3 separate regions of the Homo sapiens genome follow, and all the other regions are linked to region 1. Evidence: promoter capture Hi-C in human tissues and cell types (Jung and others, 2019). All regions are on one chromosome and are shown on one strand. Each heading gives the region's core, a stretch centred on a gene start or on the middle of the fragment in contact. The rest is flanking DNA. Distances are from core to core; before and after follow the strand shown. Region 1 holds the start of MMD2 (monocyte to macrophage differentiation associated 2). Region 2 has its middle 45 kb from the start of RBAKDN. Region 3 has its middle 27 kb from the start of RBAKDN.

Region 1 (4,785 bases), core at 597-3,096:
ACCCTGTCTCAAAGAAAAAAAACAAAGGCCGGGGGCGGTGGGTCATGCCTGTAATCCCAGCACTTTGGGAGGCCGAGGCGGGGGGATCACGACGTCAAGAGATTGAGACCATCCTGGCTAACGCGGTGAAACCCCAGTCTCTACTAAAAATACAAAAAATTAGCCGGGCATGGTGGCAGGTGCCTGTAGTCCCAGCTACTCGGAAGGCTGAAGCAGGAGAATCGCTTGAAACCAGGAGGTGGAGGTTGCAGTGGGCCGAGATCATGCCATTGCACTCCAGCCTGGGCAACAAGAGCGAGACTCCATCTCAGAAAAAAAAAAAAAGTAAGTCCAGTCCAGTCACACAATCTGGTCAACAGAGTCAATCCGCAGGAACTTATCCTCAAGTCCTTCCCAAGTGCATCACATCTCTGGGTGGGATTCCCCATTTAGGAGAGATAGACTCATCATGTCCCCCAGGGGGAAACAGAGGGTGAGACTGAGGGGGAAGGAAGGGTTCCGTCCTGTCCGCCAGCCTTCCCTACCCTGGACACCATCCTAGCCCTGAGCTCCTCTTGTCAAGCTGTGCTCAATATGACCAGAACTTGTGGAGACTTCAGGAGCACCAGGGCACTCTCAACAACCAGTTGCAAGTGACAAGCCACACTGATGTGAGTAGGAAGAATACTGCCAGCCCATCTCCCACTCACCACCCACTGGAGCCTCAGCACACACCAGGCCCCTCTGTTCACGAAGGCAGGGGACCCCAGGTGGCAGAGGGGGAAAGGTGACCTGGAGGACAGCCTGGTGCCCCCTCCAAAGAGGCCCCCGCGGGCTGCTCCCAGCAGACGGGTCTGTGCTCGCCGAAGACCACTGGGGACCGAGGAGCAACTTTAGGAGGGGATTTTTCATGCCAGCTTCCAGGCAAGCACATCTCCCAACAAAATCTTAAAGATATGTAAAAGGAGAAACCCCCTCCCCACGCCCACCTTCTTCACTGGAATTCCAAGCAACAGGAGCCTAACTTCTACTCAGATATCACAATGTCTGTTAATCACCATTTTACAAAAGAGACGGAGGTTCTGAGGGGACCACGGAGTTCACACTATGAAAAGACCAGGATGTACAGGTGCCTCCCCCCACCGCACCCCGAGCCTCAGTTTCTCCATCTGAAAAGAGCACTTACTCTTTCCTCCGACTTGCTGGAAGGGTGGACAGAGGTGGTACCAACGCCTTTTACCATGAACAAGAGTGCCCAAGAGAGACCGAGCGTAACTGCCCGAGCGTAGCTGGCCTGGGCTCCAGGCGCTGCGCAAAGTGCTCTGCAAGGACCAGCTCGCTTAATCCTCACGGCGACCCAGGACACGGGGACTCGCATAACCCCCGTTTTGCAAACGTGGAAATGAGGTTCAGAGAAGTGAAGCGACTTGCCCAATGGCACCCAGCGAGGAGGCGCGGGCGCCCCGGTTACTCCATCCCAGCGAGAAGACGAGGCTGCCTGGGTCCTGGTTTTCTCGGGCGGGGGTCAGGGGTCCGCCGATCCCCTCTAGCGCTCCGGGCGGCGGGGCCCGAGAACCAAGGTGGCCTCCGCGGCCCCCGCCGCCGCGCGCCCCTCCCTCCCTCCCCGCGGACCTCCGCGGCCGCCGCTCACCTCGCGTATTTCGTCTTCTGGAAATCCAGCAGCCGGGGGGCGAACATCGCGGCGCTTCCATGGGAATCTGGCCCCGGGCTCAGAGCGCGGGTAGCTGGCAGAGCCTGGGGGGCGCGGCGGCGGCAGCAGCAGGTTGGAGGGCGCGCGGCGGGGGCCAAGGGGACCTGGTCGGCGCCCGGAGCCGGAGCCGGAGCCCGAGCCGGAGCTGGAGGCGCCCGGAGCCGCCGACGCCAAATCCCGAGCAGATGGTGGCGGGGGCGGGGCGGGCGGGGGCACGGGGGGGCTCCCGGGCTCGCGCTGCCAATCGCCTAAGCCCGGCCCCCTCCCTCCCGCGACCCCGCCGCCTCCGCTGAGGTGGAGGAGGGTCGTGGGGAGATGGGGGGGTGGGAGAGGTGGGGGTGAGGAAGTGGGCGTAAGGAGTGGGGGCGGGACGGGGGGGGTCCTGGCTGCGCGCGCGAGCCACCCATCGCCCAGGCCTGGGGCGGCCCTGGCCCCGGCCCCTTTTCCCGGTGCCCTCCCTGGAAGCCAGGAGGTGGGGGGTTGGTGGGGTGGGGAGCGGGAAGTGGTAGTAGGGGGAGTGGGAAGGATTGGGAAGGCGGGGGCGCCAGGTGGGTGGAATGCAAAGTTGCGGGGCTGAGGGAGTCGGGGAGTGGGAAGGGGACGGGAGTGGGAACAGGGGGTGCTGGAGGGGTTGGGGGAAGTGGGAAGTGGGGGGTAAGGAGAGTGGGAATGGACGTGGGATGAGTGGGAAGTGGGGGCGTTGGTGGGGAGTGGGGGACTTGGGGGTGGGGGAGCGGAAAGTGGGGGGTTGGGGGGAGTGGGGGACCTGGGGGTGGAGGGAGTGGAAAGTGGGGGAAGTTGGGGGGAGTGGGGGACCTGGGGGTGGAGGGAGTGGGAAATGGGGGTGTTGGGGGGTGGAGGGAGTGGAAAGTGGGGGGTTGGGGGGAGTGGGGGACCTGGGGGTGGAGGAAGTGGGGGGTTGGTGGGAAGAAGGGGAACTGGAGGTGGAGGGAGTGGGAAGTCGGGGTGTTGGGGGGGGAGTGAGGGGGTTAGTGGGAAGAGAGGGACTCCGAGGTTGGTGGAGGTGGGAAATGGGGGTCTTGGAGGGAGTGGGGGACCTGGGGGTGGGGGGAGTGGGAAGTGGGGGTGTTGGAGGGAGCGGGGGACCTGGGGGTGGAGGGAGTGGGAAGTGGAGGAGTTGGTGGGGAGTGGGGGACCCGAGGGTAGGGGGACTGGAAAGTGAGGTTGGTGGGGGGTGGAGGGAGTAGGAAGTGGATAGGGGACTTCCCAATCCAGCCCCTTTTTCCCAGGTATCCTCCACCAGTACTTTTTCCAGTGAGGAGAAAAAAGCCCTCCAGGGCTAGACAGGGCTGGACCGACCCCGCTGGCCCCAACTTGGCTGGAAGGACAGCGGACACTGTGCCCGTCGTCCCCAGTGTAGCTGGGCCCAGCACCTACCGCCTGCCTGTGGCTTGCTTGCTCCCCCCACTGCCTGGCTCCCTACTGCCACGTCCCTGCTAGGCACAAGGGCCCCTATGGGACCTGCCCGGGAAGGGTCAGGGCCTCTGGGAAAACCCTCTTCCCCCAAGACTTCATGACTCTGAGGACCCTCCTGACCGCCATGACAGGGTCATTTGCATCTGGTGGCTGGATTCCCGAGTACAAATTCCAGCTTTCTCCCGTAGGAGACCTGGCCCAGGTTCTGGGCTTTGGAAAACCAACCACCCTATGGGAGGCTTGGAACCCCGGGGGGCTGATGGAGGGAAGACAGGCTTCCATGTGAAAGACATGCCAGCGGCACCTGAGGAACCCTAGGATTGGTCCCCAGATCCAAGAGAAGGCCCTTCGTTTGCACACACACTTCACCCTCCTTCCCAAGCCCCAGCCCCTATTCCTTTTTATTAATACAGTAATGCTTTATTTGAGATCCTGCTGAACATTCAGAAGATAACCCCACCCACTCCCTCTGCCCCCAGGGAGCTAGGACCAGAAGTGGGAAAAAGACAAAGGACTTCACCTTTTTTTCTTTTTTTTTTGAGACGGGGTCTTACTCTGTCGCCCAGGTTTGAGTGCAGTGGCGCCATCTCAGCTCACTACAACCTCTGCCTCTCGGGTTCAAACGATTCTCGTGCCTCAGCCTCCCAAGTAGCTGGGACTACACGCGTGCACCACCATGCCCAGCTGATTTTTGTATTTTTAGTAGAGATGGGGTTTCACCATGTTGGCCAGGCTGGTCTCAAACTCCTTGACCTCAGGTGATCTGCCCGCCTCAGCCTCCCAAAGTGGGGAGATTACAGGTGTTGCTGACTCCATCTAATTTATTTCGCCACTTCCACTGGGGAGGACCAGAGGGTTATAAGTAGATGCCTTCAGAGGCCATGGCAGGGCTGAGGGCTGGGGGGTGGGGTGGGGGATGGCTGAGGTGGGGACCAGAAGAGGGAACAGGAGTGCTTAGGAGGCAAAGGCCACCAGACCACCCTGATGATGGATTAGAAGTGGCAGATGCAGCCGGGCACGGTGGTTCATGCCTGTAATCCCAGCACTTGGGGAGGCCAAGGCAGGCGGATCACGAGGTCAAGAGATCGAGACCATCCTGGGACTATAAGTCCCAGCTACTCGGGAGGCTGAGGCAGGTGAATCGCTTGAACCTGGGAGGCGGAGGTTGCAGTTAGCCAAGATCGCGCCACTGCACTCCAGCCTGGGTGACAGAGCGAGACTCCCTCTAAAAAAAAAAAAAGAAAGAAAGAAAGAAAGTGGCAGATGGTCTCTCTCTCTCCTGGAGCTGAGACACTCTTCTGCCCTGGGACATGAGAACTCCTGGTTTTCCAACCTCTGCCTCCAGGATCTCAGCCTCCGTCCCAGCCTCATCTATCTATCTATCTATCTATCTATCTATCTATCTATCTATCCACCTATCTATCTATATTTTTTTAAGCCAGGTGGGGTAAGCCACTGCTCATGCCTGTGATCTCAGCATTTTGGGAGGCCAAAGCAGAAAGATTGCTTGAGGCCAAGAATTCAGGACCAACCTTGGCATGGTGAAACCCCATCTATACAAAAAATTTTAAAATTAGCCAGGCATGGTGGCATGCGCCTGCAGTCCCATCTCCTCAGGAGGCTGAAGCAGGAAGATCGCTTGAGCCCAGGAGTTGGAG
Region 2 (4,785 bases), core at 675-3,174, 160 kb after region 1:
GAGGCCAAGGCTCACTTGAGCCCAGGAGTGTTCGACACCAGCCTGGGCAACATAGCAAGAGTCCCATGTCTACACAGATAAAATAAATTAACTGAGCATTGTGGTACACACCTGTAGTCCCAGCTACTCAAGAGGCTGGGGCAGGAGTTTCACTTGAAGCCCATAGCTTGAGACCAGCCTGGGTAACACAGCTAGAGTCCCATCTCTACAAAGCTTTTTTTTTTTTTTTACCTTAAAAAAATTTAAAGTTTTTTTAAAATTAAAAATTTTTAAGTTTTTTAAAATTAAAAAAATTTTGTTTTTTTAAGTTCCTTAAATTTTAAAAATGCTTCAGCTTTTTTTAAAAATTAAGCTTTTTAAAATTAAAAAAGTTATAAAGTCTTCTAGCATTTAAAAAAATGTTAAGAAGTTTTTAAAAATTTTAAAACATGGGCTGGGTGTGGTGGCTCACACCTGTAATCCCAGCACTTTGGGAGGCTGAGGCACGAGGATCACTTGAGCCCAGAAGTTGGAGAACAGCCTGGGCAATATAAGGAGACCCTATTTCTACAAATAATTTTAAAAAAAAAATAGGTGTGGTGGCAGGCACCCATGGTCTCAGTTACTTGGGGGCTGAGGCAGGAGGACTGCCTCATTCTGGGAGGTTGAGGCTGCAGTGAGCTGTGTGATCAGACCACCACACTCCAACTTAGGTAACAGAATGAGACCCTGTCTCAAAAAAAAAAAAAAAAAAGTAGGTAGGGTGCAGTAGCCCACCCCTGTAATCCCAGCACTTTGGGAAGCCGAGGCAGACAGATCGCTTGAGTGCAGGAGTTCAAGACCAGCCTGAGTAACATGGCGAAACCCTGTCTCAACAAAAAATAGAAAAATTAGGGCAGACACGGTGGCTCATGCCTATAATCCCAGCACTTTGGGAGGGTGAGGCGGATCAGCTGTGGTCAGGAGTTTGAGAGCAGCCTGGACAACATAGTGAAACCCCATCTCTACTAAAAATACAAAAATTAGCTGGGCGTGGTGGCACATGCCTGTAGTCCCAGCTACTCGGGAGGCTGAGGCAGGAGAATCGCTTGAACCTGGGAGGCAGAGGCTGCAGTGAGCTGAGATTGCGCCACTGCACTCCAGCCTAGGCAACAGAGTGATATGAGACACTGTCTCAAAAAATAAAAATTAGAAAAATTAGCTAGATGAGGCAGTGTTCACCTGCGGTCCCAACTACCTGGGGGGCTGAGATGGGAAGATTGCTTGAACCCAGGAGGCGGAGAGCACAGTGAGCCAAGATCACACCACTGCCCTCCAGCCTTGGCAATGGAGCGAGACCCAGTCTCAATAATGATGATGATATATGATTCTGCATCTAAGAGGAAGGACTGGAACTCTCCTCATGACCATGGCAGCAGCTGCTCTGACTCGTGAAGGCTGCTCTTCCTCATGAGGCGGCTGCCCCCGTGGAGAGGGTGGATGCTCTTCCCTGGTAGTTATTTTCTCTGCAACTGAGGGAGAAATGATGAACCCAGGATTGCAATGGGTTTGTCCTGAATCCAGCAAAGGGGAAGAAAAGGGAATCATAAAGCACCCATCCCAGGGCAGGAGAGATGATGGATGCACTGTTCTATCAGCTCAGGGCCGGGAGGTGTGCAGGGGGTCAGGCAGCCTCTGTGCACAGAGGATTCTCCCGCTGCTTCTGAGACTTCACCCACGTGGCTCTGTCTGCAGGACTGGTCATTCCTGCTGCTCAGAACCAGCCCACTCCACGCAGAGATCACCTGGGAGAACCCAGACTCCTTCCAGTCCTTCCCCGCCGGCTGCAGCTCTTCCTTCTCACTGTAGGCTGGGAACCAGGATGCCTGCCTTCCTAGGTATGGACGAGGTAGGTTTTAGGAGGTGGGATAGAACTGGGAGGGTGGGTGGCTACGTCTGAAGGAGACCCCTGGGTGCCTGGAAGCATGCAGGGCACAGCACAGCAGCTCCGGCCATCTGAATTTCCGGGGAACATTGGACTGGGGGAAGTGAGGGGTGCCCAGGATGGATTGAGGGGAGGATTCTGGGTTCCTGGGAGAAGGTGGGGACAGAGTGAGAAAGGGTAGCCCTCAGAAGGCTGGGCGTGGGGTTCTGGGGCCTAGGACAGGCAAAAGGCATACAGGTGTCTAGGAGGGAGGTGTCACAGTGACACCTCTCCAGCCTGCACTCCTGTCCCTGCCGCAGACCCCAACGCGAGCTGCTGGCCTGAGTCCAATGGGACAGCCCTGCAGGAGTTCGTGATCCTGGGCTTCTCCGTGTGGCCCCCGGGGCTCCGCGTGCTGCTCTTCGTCCTCTTCTTGCCGCTCTACCTGGTCACCCTGGCGGGGAACCTACTGATCCTGGGCCTGGCCCTGGTGGACCCCGCCCTGCACTCGCCAATGTACTTCTTCCTGGGGGCGCTGTCCGCGGCGCAGGCAGCCTACACGCTGGTGCTCACGCCACGCATGCTGGCCGGCTTCCTCCTGCCCTCCAGGGGCCAGGCTGTGGACCCCTCTACCTGCGCCGCCCAGATGGGCCTCTTCGTGGCCCTGGGGGGCTCCGAGTGCCTGCTGCTGGCTGCCATGGCCCTAGACCGCTACCTGGCTATCTGCCATCCACTCTGCTACCCTCGGCTCATGACCATGGACGTCTGCTGGGGCCTGCTTGGCCGCCTGCTGCGCGGGTGGCTCTGTCCTGGCCCTGGGCCTCACCGCGGTCATCTTCCAGCTGCCCTTCTGCCGCGGCGGCCTGGTCAACCACGTCTTCTGCGACCTCCCGGCCGTGCTGGTGCTGGCCTGCGGGTGCCGGGCCCTGCAGGAGCGCGTCCTCCTGGTGGCCTGCCTGCTGCTGCTGGTGCTACCCCTGCTCCTCATCCTGCTCTCCTACACCCGGGTGCTGGTGGTCATCCTGGGTGTTGGGGGGGTCGCGGGCCGCCGCAAGGCCTTCAACACGGTGGCGTCCCACCTCACCGTGGCTGTGCTCCACTACGGCTGTGCCACGGCCATGTATGCCAGGCCCCTGAACAGCCGTTCCCTTGAGGAGGACAAGCTGGTCTCGCTCATCTATATCAACGTCACCCCGCTGCTGTACCCGGCCATCTACACGCTGCGGAACCGGGACATGCAGGAGGCCCTGCAATGCATGGTCGGCCAGAGGACGCTGGGGATGGCCACCAGGTGGATTTTGCCTGATGCTGGGTGCCAGGCGGTGTCTGTCCTGAGATTTCTCCCACTGAGGGGAATCTCACCATTCTGGAGCCATCTAAGCCTCCCCAACGCCTACGGGGTGTAAATCTAAGTATAGCACGCAAAGACCAGCAATCCGACTCCAGCCTAGCGCTGCTGTGTCCGTTGACGTCTTGCGCTGGATGGTTCTTTGCTGTTGGGGGATGTCCCATGCGTTACAAAGTGCTCGGCCGCGCTCTGAGTCTTTCTCTATTCACTGGATGCCGGTGGCACCCTCCACCCCACTACCCTGTGTGATAATCAAAAATGTTCTTGGGCTTGGCGCAGTGGCTCATGCCTGTAACCCCAGCACTTTGGGAGGCCAAGGCAGGAGGATCTCGAGTCCAGGAGTTTGAGACCAGCCTGGCTAACACAGTGAAACCCCGCCTCTACAAAAATTGTCCAGGTGTACTGCTGTGTGCCTGTAGTCCCAGCTAAGTGGGAGGCTGAGGCAGGAGGATCACTTGAGCCCAGGGGGTGGAGGCTGCAGTGAGCTATGATTGCAGGACTGTACTCCAGCCTGGGTGACAGAGCAAAGCCCCATCTCAAACAAAAAAATACCTCCTGAAGGGCCCATTTAGGAGCCAGGAACCTCAGAGGCATGGTCAGTGCAGGTAACCTCTGCCTACCTAACCACCTGGCTGGTGGATGTGCACGCCTATCAAGGCTGATTGGGAAGAATTATGTCTACTCCAGTGAGGAGCACCAAGAAGGAAGCTGACAATGGCTTCAGGAGTCTTGGGAAAGAGGAAGAGTCTCTTCATACCATTTCCATCCTTATCTGTGGCTTCTTGAGGCTGGTGTCAGGAAACCTGAAACACAAAAGCCCTAGCCCTGGAGCAGAAGAGCCTCCCAGCCTTCTCCCCAAATGCTACCGGTATATGGAACATGATCACCCCTAAACAGATTTAAGACAGCTGGTTTTTTTGTGTGTATGCATTTTGCTTTGTTTTGTTTTTTTTTTGTTTTTTAGATGGAGTCTCACACTATTGCCCAGGCTGGAGCGCAATGGTTCGAACTCAGCTTACTGCAACCTCCGCCTTCTGGGTTCAAGCGATTCTCCTGCCTCAGCCTCCCGAGTAGCTCGGATTATAGGTGCCCACCACCATGCCCAGCTAATTTTTTGTATTTTTAGTAGAGACGGTTTCACTATGTTGGCCACGCTGGTCTTGAACTCCTGACCTTGTGATCCGCCCGCCTTGGTCTCCCAAAGTGCTGGGATTACAGGCATGAGCCACCACACCTGGCCTACGACAGCTCTTTTTAAGGACTTTTTTAGAGCAGTTTAGGTTCACAGCACAATTGAGAGGAAGGTACAGAGACATCCCATTTACCCCTGTCCCTGAACAAGATGCACTTCACTGAGGTTATGTTAGATTCCAGAGAAACATTGGTTGAGGGACTCTTCTTTCCAAAATATTTTTGCTTCCAAAAGCTGTTTCAAACACCACAACACCAAAACCCTGTTTTGGGTTTTTTGGTTTTTTTTTTTTTTTTTTTTTTTTGAGACAAAATCTTGCTCTGTCATGCAGGCTGGAGTGCAGTGGTGTGATCTCGGCTCACT
Region 3 (4,785 bases), core at 747-3,246, 140 kb after region 1:
TTCTTTTCTTTTCTTGTTTTTGTTTTTTGTTTTTTGTTTTTTGAGACAGAGTTTCACTTTTGTTGCCTAGGCTGGAGTGCAATGGTGTGATCTCTGCTCACTGTAATCTCTGCCTCCTGGGTTCAGCCTCCCAAGCAGCTGGGACTACAGGCATGAGCCAGCATGCCTGGCTTTTTTTTTTTTTTTTTTTTTTTTGTATTTTTAGTAGAGATGTGGTTTCTCCATGTTGGTCAGGCCGGTCTCGAACTCCCGACCTCGGGTGATCCACCCGCCTCATTATTCTACTTCCACGAGATCAACATTTTTAGCTTTCACATATAAGTGAGAACTTGTGGTATTTATCTTCCTGTGCCTGGCTTATTTCACTTAACCTAATGTTCTCTACGCTCATCCATGTGACCCCAAATAACAGGATTTTACTCTTTTTAAGGCTGAATCATATTTCATTGTGATCTATAACACATATTTATCCATTCATCTGTTGGTGAACACTCAGATTGATTCCAAATCTTGGCTATTGTGAAAAGTGCTGCAATCCACACGGGAGTGCGGGTGTCTGTTCAACACAGAGACTTCCTTTTCTTTGGATATATATGCTAGAGGGGGATTGCTGGATCATATGGTTGTTGTATTTTTCATTTTTTTGAGGAACTCCCATACTGTTTTCTACAATGATGGTACTAATTTACGGTCTGTCAACAGTGTCTAAGCGTTCCCCTTTCTCCATCTCCTCACCAGCATTTGTTATTTTTGTCGTTTTGATAATAGCTTTTTCTTTTTTTTGAGATGGAAGTTCACTCTTTTCACCCGGGCTGGAGTGCAGTGGTGCGATCTCCGCTCACCGCAGTCTCCGCCTCCCCGATTCAAGCGATTCTTCTGCCTCAGCCTCCTGAGTAGCTGGGATTACAGGCGCCTGCCACCACGCCCAGCTAATTTTTGTATTTTTGGTAGGGACAGGGTTTCATCATGTTGGCCAGGCTGGTCTTGAGCTCCTGACCTCAGGTGATCCTCTTGCCTTGGCCTCCCAAAGTGCTGGGATTACAGTCATGAGCCACCACGCCTGGCTTTTTTTTTTTTTTTTTTTTTTTTTTTTTTTTTTTTGAGAGACAGAGTCTTACTCTTGTTGTCCAGGCTGGTGTGCAATGGCACGATTTTGGCTCACTGCAACCTCTGCCTCCTGAGTTCAAGTGATTCTCCTGCCTCAGCCTCCCCGGTAGCTGGGATTACAGGTGCTTGCCACCATACCTGGCTAATTTTTGTATTTTTAGTAGAGACGGGGTTTCACCATATTGGCCAAGCTGGTCTTGAACTCCTGACCTCAAGTAATCCACCCACCACAGCCTCCCAAAGTGCTGGGATTACAGGCGTGAGCCACCGTGTCTGGCCAATAACAGCTATTCTAACTGGGGTGAGATGATATCTCATTGTGGTTTTGATTCACCATTCCCTGATTATTAGTGATGTTGAGCCTTTTTTCATAGATCTTGAGCCATTTGTATGTCTTCTTTTGAGAAACGTCTATTTAGCTCACTGCCCATTAAAAAAGTTGGATTATCTGTTTTGCTGTTGAGTGTTTGAGTTATTTTTATAGTCTAGATATTAATCTCCTGTTAGATAAGTAGTTTGCAAATATTTTCTCCCATTTTGCAGGTTGTCTTTTCACTCTGTCAACTGTTTCCTTTGTTGTGCAGAATCTTTAGTGTGACATAATTCCATTTCTCTTTGTTATTGTTGTTGCTGCCTGTGCTATTTTTTTTTTTTTTTTTTTTTTTTTTTTTGGACACGGAGTCTCACTCTGTTGCCCAGGCTGGAGTGTAGGGGTATGATCTCAGCTCACTGCAACCTCCACCTCCTAGGTTCTAGCCATTCTCCTGCCTCAGCCTCCCAAGCAGCTGGGACTACAGGCACATGCCACCACGCCTGGCTAATTTTTAGATTTTTAGTAGAGATGGGTTTCACCATGTTGGCCAGGCTGGTCTCGAACTCTTAACCTCAAGTGATCTGCCCACCTCAGCCTCCCAGAGTGCTGGGATTACAGGTGTGAGCCATCGCAGCTGACCAAGATCTTGTTAATAAAAATTTTGCCCAGACCAGTGTCATGAAGTGTTTTCCCTGTGTTTTCTTCTAGTAATGTTATAGCTTTGGGTCTTATATTTAAGTCTTATATTCATTTTGAGTTGATTTTTGTATATGACGAGAAATGGGGATCAGGTTTGATCCTTCTGTTTATGGATACCCAGTTTTTCAACCATTTATTGAAGAGACTATCCTTTCCCCAATGAATGTTCTTGATGCCTTTGTCAAAATTGCATCACCTGGCCAGGCACAGTGGCTCATGCCTGTAAACCCAGCACTTTGGAAGGCTGAAGTGGGTGGACTGCTTGAGCCCAGGAGTTTGAGACCAGGCTGGGCAACATGGTAAAACTCTGTCTCTACAAAAAACACACACAAATAGCTAGGTGTGATGGTGCATGCCTGTGGTCCTAGCTACTTGAAAGGCTGAAGTGGAAGAATCACCTGAGCCTGGGGAGGTCAAGGCTGCAGTAAGCTGTGATTGCACCACTGCACTCTAGCCTGGGTGACAGAGTAAGAAACCATCTCAAAAAAAAAAAAAAAAATTCACTGTAGATGTACGGATTTATTTCTGGGTTCTCTATTCTGTTCCATTGGTCTGTGTGTCTGTTTTTATGCCAGTGCCATGAGGCTTTAATTACTGTAGCTTTGTAGTATATTTTGAAGTCATTTAGTGTTATGCCTTCAGCTTCGTTCTTGCTCACGACTGCTTTGGCTATTTGGAGTTTTTTGTGGCTCTATATGAATTTTAGGATTGTTTTTGCTATTTCTGTGAAGAATGTCTTGGTATTTTGATAGGGATTGCATTGAATCTGTAGATTGCTGTTGGTGGTCTGATCATTTTCACAGTATGAATTCTTGCGATCCATGAGCATAAGGTGTCTTTGCATTTTTCTGTGTGTCCTCTTCAATTTATTTCACCGGTGTTTTATAGTTTCCCTTTCAGAGACCTTTCTCCTCCTTGGTTAACTTTATTCCTAGGTACTTTTTATAGCTACTGTAAATGGGATTGCTTTCTTGACTTTTTTTTTCAGCTAGTTCATTGTCAATGTATAGAAATACTGCTGATTTTTGTATGTTGATTTTTATATCCTGCAACTTTACTAAATTTCAGTTCTAAAAGTTTTTTGGAGCCGGGCACGGTGTCTCACACCTGTAATCCCAACACTTTGGGAGGCCGAGGTGGGCAGATCACAAGGTCAGGAGTTCGAGACCATCCTGGCCAACGTGGTAAAATCCCATCTCTACTAAAAATACAAAAATTAGCTGGGCATGGTGGCGTGCGACTGTAATCCCAGCTACCTGGGAGGCTGAGGCAGGAGAATTGCTTGAACCTGGGAGGCAGAGGTTGCAGTGAGCCGAGATTGTGCCATTGGACTCCAGCCTGGGCAACAGACGGAGACTCCATCTTAAAAAAAAAAAAAAAAAAAAAAATTTTTTTTGGTGGAGCTTTTAGGATTTTCTATATATAAGACCATGTTGTCTGGAAACAGGGATGATTTCACGGCTCTTCTCTAGTTTGAATTCCCTTTATTTCTTTCTCTTGACTAATTGCTCTGTCTAGGACTTCCAGTACTATTGAATAAGAGTGGCGAGTGTGGGCATTTATATCTTGTCCCAGTTCCAAGAGGAAGAGCTTTAAGCTTTTCCCCATTCTGTATGATGTTAGCTGTGGGTTTGCTATATGTAGCCTTCATTGAGCGGCAGTACATTCGTTATATGCCTATGTTGTTCAGAGTTTTGTCATAAAGCAATGTTGAATTTCATCAAATGCTTTCTCAGCATCTCTTGAGATGATTATACAGTTTTTGTCTTTCGTTCTGTTGATGTAATGTGTCACATTTATTGATTTGCAAATGTTGAACCATCCTTGTATCTCTGGGATAAATCTCACTTGATCACAGTGAAGGATTTTTTTTTTTTTTTTTTGAGACAGAATCTCACTCTGTCACCTAGTCTGGAGTGCAGTAGTGCGATCTTGGCTCACTGCAACCTCCGCCTCCCAGGTTCAAGCAGTACTTCTGCCTCAGCCTCCCAAGTAGCTGGGATTACAGGTGTGTGCCACCACGCCCAGCTAATTTTTGTATTTTTAGTAGAGACAGGGTTTCACCATGTTGGCCAGGCTAGTCTCGAACTCCAGACCTCGTGATCTGCCTGCCTCGGCCTCCCAAAGTGCTGGGATTACAGGCATGAGCCACCGCGCCCGGCCGTGAAGGATCTTTATAATGTGCTGCTGGATTTGGTTTGCTAGTATTTTGTTAAGGATCTTTGCATCTGTGTTCATCAGGGATATTGGCCTGTAGTTTTCTTTTTGTGTTGTGTTCTTGTCTGGTTTTCGTCTTAGAGTAATATTGGCCTTGTAGAATGATATTGGAAGAATTCCTTCCCTTCGATTTTCTGGAAAAGTTTGAGAAAAATTGGCATTGGTACTTTAAATGTTTGGTAGAATTCAGCAGTGAATCTGTGGTTCTTCTTTGATGAGATTTTTTTTTTGAGATGGAGTTTTGCTCTTTTTGCCCAGGCTGGAGTGCATTGGCACGATCTTGGCTCACTGCAACCTCCACCTCCCAGGTTCAAGTGATTCTCCTGCCTCAGCCTCCCGAGTAGCTCGGATTACAGGCACGTGCCACCACGCCTAGCTAATACTGTATTTTTAGTAAAGACAGGGTTTTACCACATTGGTGAGGCTGGTCTCAAGCTACTGACCTCAGG

The links. Contacts are between HindIII fragments. The study calls those that stand out against the background at their distance.
Region 2: a contact is called between a fragment that was not itself captured here and the fragment with the promoter of MMD2 in region 1, in 1 of the 25 tissues and cell types used here (hippocampus).
Region 3: a fragment that was not itself captured here is called in contact with the fragment with the promoter of MMD2 in region 1 in 3 of the 25 tissues and cell types used here (lymphoblastoid cells, mesendoderm cells and spleen).

What each region holds. Positions count from the first base shown.
Region 1 is chr7:4,957,341-4,962,125 of GRCh38, forward strand. MMD2 (monocyte to macrophage differentiation associated 2) reads right to left here and starts at 1,847. Exons shown (of 7, transcript NM_198403.4): 1 at 1,631-1,847. The coding sequence starts at 1,677. The HindIII fragment of the contact is 48,661 bases long and covers 1-4,785 here.
Region 2 is chr7:5,114,917-5,119,701 of GRCh38, forward strand. It overlaps the pseudogene OR10AH1P. Among named protein-coding and RNA genes, the nearest start is that of RBAKDN, 45 kb to the left of the region's middle. RefSeq lists a silencer at 3,006-3,164. The HindIII fragment of the contact is 3,284 bases long and covers 283-3,566 here.
Region 3 is chr7:5,096,734-5,101,518 of GRCh38, forward strand. No RefSeq gene overlaps it. Among named protein-coding and RNA genes, the nearest start is that of RBAKDN, 27 kb to the left of the region's middle. The HindIII fragment of the contact is 7,777 bases long and covers 1-4,785 here.